2 separate regions of the Homo sapiens genome follow, and region 2 is linked to region 1. Evidence: promoter capture Hi-C in human tissues and cell types (Jung and others, 2019). All regions are on one chromosome and are shown on one strand. The core of a region is centred on a gene start or on the middle of the fragment in contact, and the rest is flanking DNA. Distances in the headings are between cores, read along the strand shown. Region 1 holds the start of ZFYVE26 (zinc finger FYVE-type containing 26). Region 2 overlaps ACTN1 (actinin alpha 1).

What was found. The method cuts DNA at HindIII sites, captures the fragments that hold promoters and counts their contacts. A contact is called where the count stands out against the background at its distance.
Region 2: a fragment that was not itself captured here is called in contact with the fragment with the promoter of ZFYVE26 in region 1 in 1 of the 25 tissues and cell types used here (spleen).

What each region holds. Positions count from the first base shown.
Region 1 is chr14:67,815,160-67,818,260 of GRCh38, forward strand. ZFYVE26 (zinc finger FYVE-type containing 26) reads right to left here and starts at 1,431. Exons shown (of 42, transcript NM_015346.4): 1 at 1,375-1,431; 2 at 611-887. The coding sequence starts at 804. RefSeq lists enhancers at 1,643-1,812, 1,863-1,962. The HindIII fragment of the contact is 27,987 bases long and covers 1-3,101 here.
Region 2 is chr14:68,942,944-68,946,044 of GRCh38, forward strand. All of the region lies in intron 1 of ACTN1 (actinin alpha 1), which reads right to left. Among named protein-coding and RNA genes, the nearest start is that of ACTN1, 35 kb to the right of the region's middle. RefSeq lists an enhancer at 1-166. The HindIII fragment of the contact is 5,962 bases long and covers 1-3,101 here.

The DNA of each region.
Region 1 (3,101 bases), core at 181-2,680:
TGGATAAAACTGCATAAAACTACAAATGAAAAAATGAAGGCAGATTAAGAAAATGCTGAAAACCAAATAAACTCTGTAGTGTCATTTAAAGTAATGTGCCAATGTCAATTTCATGGTTTTGATATTGTACTACAGCTGTATGAGACGTCGCAATTGGGGCAGACTGGGAAAAGGATACGCTGGACTCCATTATTTTTGCAGCTTCTTGTGAGACTGCAATTATTTCGAAATAAAAAGTTTTAAGTAAAGCGACAACAATATTTTCAATCTCATAAGCAAGAAGAGAGCAGGGTTTGCTTTTTTGGAGGCAAAGAAAATAGTTTTCAATGCAGTTCCACCATCTATATTAACGAGGATAAACAAGAAATGGCAGTTTCAGGCACACTTTGGCAGCCAGGCTTACATTCAGTTGCAGATGATAATCAAAAGCCAATATTGACTAAGTAATGGATGTATACTATAGAGGTAAAATTTCAGAGCACGTGAAATACACTGTGCCTCTGCTTATTCTTCAGAGGGTAGTTGAGTGGGGGCACATTGACCAATGCCCAAATATTGAACCACATGTCTCTCACCCTGGGACCGTCTGGTAGGAAAAGAGATCCCTTACCTCAGCAGATTTGGACACACCACCAATGCCTGAAGTATGTCTTCTACCCTCTTTGGGATATCCCCTTGTCCCTCCTGTAGCTGAGGTACACATGCCTGTGCCAGCTCCCATTCTCCCCTCCGCAGGCATTCGCAGAAAAATCCAAAAAGCTGCTTCTGCGAAGCAGCTTCCTCTTTTCCAAATGGATGATTCATTTTCCCAGCACAGAGTGCAGGGAGATACAAAGAAATGAGTTATGCCGAACACATTCTCAATGTTCTCATTCGCGGAGTACCTCCTAGAAACAACACAACGCCAGTGAGAAGAAACAGAAGGCACTGTATTAAGACAAAGCAGCAACTACTGGTCCGCCTGGGAAAGGCGGGACTTGCTTGCCTAAGTATCGTTTTCAGTTTAATTTCCCACGTTACTTTTTGAAAACACTTTCTTCAAGGGGTGGATCCCATCTCTTCACGCGGATTCCTATATTTAATAATATTAATAGTCATATTTGCTCCGGGCGCAGACCCATAACTCTACGTCCGTATTCCCTACTGAACGTTATGCCCAGTCTTGACTCCAAATCCCCAGGTGGTCGCCTCCTCAAGAATGAGAAATTCAGCAGGAACCTCCCTAGTTTGAGCCCTCTGTTAAGGCAGAGGATTGACGACCAGGAGACGAATCTGTGTCATAAGTGGAAAGCAGTGTGGGGGTGGGCCGCAGGGACGCTCTCTGCGGGGGTCGTGGAGAGGGGCCCCTCCCTCTCAGGGGTGTCTTACACTCACCTGCTCCCGGCGCCCAAAGCAATAGAGCTCTCAGCGCAGCCATGTTTGAGCCGAGTCAGGTGACAGAACCCACTCCGAACAGCGGTGGTGGGGGTGGTGACAAAGACTGAAAGCCCCACTCCTATTGGCTCAAGGCAGGGAAGATGAAAATTAAGTGCCATATTTGTTTGAGTCACGTGACGCCACCTCTCCGGGAGTAGGGAAAGCTAGAAAGCTCGGAAAGAGGAAATCAGCTACCTGGCTGCGGACCATCTCCCTCAATTGTGACAGCTCCGGCGCTCAATACTTTCAGTTCTGCATTCGGCCGAGCAGGTGGCAGGAAGAACTGTGACCCTGGATTTTTTTTTTTCTTCCACTCTCTTATCTCCTTAACATGTGAAGTCAACATTTATTGAACGCCAACCAGTGATGGTGTTTTGCCAGGCGCGGGGGATACCCGGAGCTAGGAGAACTGGGTTCTCCTCCATTATTATTCTATCTACTGGGCTCTTTTGTTCCGGAACTCTGCGGTCTGAATTTCCATATTCTTCTGCTTCACTCCATTCATTTATTTGCACATTTACCCTACAACTGTTAATTGAACGGTGTGCTAGGCTTTATTTTATTTTTTTAGAGACAGAGTCTCTCTGTCGCTGGAGTGCGGTGGTGTGATCTCGGCTCATGGCAGCCTCGAACTTCCTGGATCAAGTAATCCTTAAGCCTCAGCCTTCCTGTAGTAGCTGGGACTAGAGGCGCGCGCCACTACACCGGGCTTAGGCCCTATTCTCTAAGTTGAGTAAATGGAGGTCCTTCTTCTCAAGGGAGATGCAGGCCAAAAATTAGGAGACGGTGGGCTAAATTATAAGACAGAAGTATGCATAAGAGATCAGAGAGCAAAGAATGAGCAAAGGCTTTTTCGCAAACACAATAATCTGAAACCAAGTCTTTTGTTTTGAGACAGAGTCTCGCTCTGTCTCCCAGGCTGGAGTGCAATGGCGCGATCTCGGCTCGCTGCAACCTCCGTCTCCCGGGTTTAAGCGATTCTCCTGCCTCAGCCTCACTGTGTAGCTGGGATAAGCGATTCTTCTGCCTCAGCCTCACTGAGTAGCTGGGATTTACAGGCGCGCGCCACCACACCCGGCTAATTTTTGTATTTTTAATAGAGACAGGGGTTCACCATGTTGGCCAGGCTGGTCTCGAACTCCTGACCTCAGGCAATCCGCCCACCTCGGCCTCCCAAAGTTCTGGGATTACGGGCGTGAGCCACCGTTCCCAGCCTGAAACCAACTCTTGAAGTAACGGCTTACTAGGTTTGCTCACCACAGCTGCCTTACACCAAGCCTTTTGTTTGGTTTCCCTGGTGTGCTTTAATCACAGACTCTCAGCTTTCCTCACTATGTGTGTTTCAGGTTTAGTAATTTCATTCAGCATTTCCCAAACTATTTAATCACCAAAGGGTGGTGAAAAGAGCAAGTTAAAACAAACAAAACGTTTTCTTCCAAAAACTCTTCTGTGATTGGTGGATTGTCCTCGATTCCTGAGAAAAGTAACATGGCTTTCTGGCCCATTAAGGTTTTTTTTTTTTTTGAGGCAATGTCTGGCTCCTCTCACCTCAGCCTCCCAAGTAGCTGGGATCACAGGTGCCTGCCACCATGTCTGGCTAATTTTTGTATGTTTAGTAGAGGCGGGGTTTCGCCATGTTGGCCAGGCTGGTTTCGAAATCCTGAGCTCAAGTGATCTGCCTGCCT
Region 2 (3,101 bases), core at 440-2,939, 1.1 Mb after region 1:
TGGGCCATGACGGAGGAGCCTAACGACCTCAATTCTCTTCACCTGAGGTTCCGCAACACAAAGTTTCTTCTCCCAAAACACAAACACACAGATCAGCACATTAAAAAGCAGCACAGAAACCCTCACCCAGGCCCAGGACAATGTGACCCAGTGCCATCACTGCCTTCCTGGCCTGTCCACTAGGCCGGCGGTGGTCTGGGGTGTCAACAGCTCAGCAGGCTGAGCAGCTCGCCAACACCTTGGTATGGCCAGCCCGGTTTGAGGGACAGGGCGGCAAGGTATCAGCAAGCAGGGAGCAGCAAGCTGAGGAACAGGAATGTGTCTGTGGGAACTTCCATTTCCAGAAGCGTGGGAAGAAGGGCAGCTGCAAGCAGATCTGTCCACCTCTGCTGAGAAGCCCAGGGACCTCTGGGTAGTGCAGGGCAGGACGGGACAAGGGGCTTCCGCCTGTGGTCAGTGTATTCACAGTCCTCTTCAAAGATCAGAGAGATCCACGCCTGCTGTTGCCCACCAGCACCGGGGCTCCTAGGCTTCACTTCAGACACTGCAGCAAGGGCAGCCCTGGGGTGCTTTCGGCTCCCCAGCCCCCTCCCCCCAACCTTGAAAGGAAAGATCAGCGTTCCATCCTCAGTTTCAAGATGGGGACACTGATGGCAACGTGGACTTCAGGGAGCCCCAAGGGGAGGTGAGGGAAGGAGAGGGAATCATATCCTAGGGTTGCTCAAAGATGTTGGCTACCATTATAACCCTCAGTGAGTGCTCACTCACTGTTATCATCACCCACGAGGCATGCGCCATCTCAGCAAGTCCACTCAACAATTCTAGGTTAAAGGAACAAAGGAACAGGACACCAAGGGCCAGTTCCCCACAGTCACACAGCTGGCAAGAGGCAGAACTGAGGTGTGAACTAGGTCGGTCAAAGCCTGAGCCTGCTCCACTCTGCTGGGAGGCTAAACTCTTCCAGGCCAGCCTTCAGACTCCGTTCAGGCTGGGGAATGATGGGGACTCATCCAGCTCTGCCCACCAGCCTGCACCAGTCCCTGCTCAGTCTCAAGCCACACGGGCACCCACTCAGCTGTGCCCAGGCAGTCCCTGAGCCCAGTGGACTGGGGAGGAGAGCCACAGGGCAGCCCAGGACACTTCAACGCTTAAAGCCAGCCACGAGAGGAGGCTGTGGACCTGCTGGCCCCCTGGGGATGCAGAATGGGCCAGCAGGTTTTTCTTCCAGGTCTCAGTTTTAGGGAGATGGAAAGAGGGTTTGAATTCTGTCTTGGGTTTCTGAACACAAAGGCCATTGAGAAAGACCGATGAATAATTAAAGGGGCCACCAAGCCGATGATGTGTGCCAGAGTGTGGGCAACTGGCTTGCTAGGGCTTGGACTGGCCCGATGTTGGCAGCCTCCCTCACGCAGGCCACTGCAGATTCTACAGACTCGCCCAGGCTCCAGGCCTCCCCTGCCAGACAGCTGCAGCCAGATTCATTCATTCCTTCCTTCCATAAATTCTTACTGAGCACTCATTCTGTATCAGGGACTAGGGTTACATCGTGGGCAAATACAGGCACTGTCCTAAGTCATGGAGCCTGCAGTCTAATGGAGAAGACAAACAATAAGCAAAGATTTTATCAATGCGTGTATTTTTGTACACTAAGATCCAGTGCCTATAGGAAAGGTCCTGGAAGGCATAAGGCTAAAACAGGACCCTGAACTGATCCTGGGGGGCTGTAGGGGGGCAGTGTGTCTGATCACTGCCCCAAGGGAGTCAGTGAATCTATAAGGCTGGGGAGTATTAGATGAAAAGTTCGTAAATGTGAAGGGGGCCCACATAACCTGTCATCCAAACCAAGGCACCAGGGGGTCTACTAATAATTACACCAGCATAACAGGTATAGGCAGAGCTGTAGGTCACCCTACACGTGTGTGGGGCGGGTAGCTGTAGGTCACCCTATGCGTGTGTGGGTCAGGTAGCTGTAGGTCACCCTATGCGTGTGTGGAGCAGGTAGCTGTAGGTCACCCTACGCGTGTGTGGGGCTGGGCAACATGGTGAAACCCTGTCTCTACTAAAAATACAAAATTAGCTGGGTGTGGTGGCACGTGCCCATAATCCCAGCTACTCAAAAGGCTAAGGTAGGAGAATCGCTTGAACCCAGGAGGCGGAGGTTGCAGTGAGCCTATTGCACCACTACACTCCAGCCTGGGCAACAGAGTAAGACTCCGGTTCAAAAAAAAAAAAAAGAAAGAAAGAAAGAAAGAAAAGAAGAAGAAGAAGAAAACAAACAAACAGCAAAGGCCCCAGAGAAAAGAGAGTAAGGTCTGTTCAAAAAACTGAAAAAAAAAAAGTCACAGTGCAGGAGGGAAGAAGAGGGTGCCAGAGACTGGAGATCAACTAGCCACATGGGTGTTCGGGTTCCTGCAGCTGTTGTTTCTCCTGAGAGCAGTGGAAGTCACCGAAGACATTTTATTTTAGCTGAAAGAAACAAATGGGGCTGTGGCGGGCTGAGTTGGGCTGGGAGTGCCAATCAGATGCTGGTTACATAATTCCACCTGCATCTTAGAAAGAGACCTCTAAATGCCATGGGAAGGGCAGATCAGAGATGGAAAAGAGTGGCTGAAAAGAGACCAAGCACAAGATCACGAAAAGGTCCCAGCCAGAGACAAAGGGAGCCAGTCCAGGGTGGCAGTGTAGGAGAGGGAGAAGCAGGTGGATACAAGAGATACTCAGGAGAGACGGGGAGGAGGGGCAGAGGCCACACCCAGATTTTCAGACCTGAGCCAACAGAAGGAGGAACAGGCAGAGAGGCCACAGCTTTGCACCCATACTCCCTGCCTGCCCAGACACCTGGGGCAGCTCGCTGTTCACAGCAGTCCCCAAAGGTCCAAAGTCCTGAGGCTGCAGATCTAATTGAAAGGTCTGAGTGGAAGAGCTTCAGAGATCAGGATGTCACTCCCAACCCACTGCCCCAAGTGTTCTACCAGTGTCAACCCAATCAATCTTAACCACCCCAGAAGGCATCTCATTTTACAGATGAGAAAACCGAGGCCAAGAGCTCACAGCCACTCAAGGTCACAGCGAACAGTAGATGCAGGAGCCAGAATTCCACC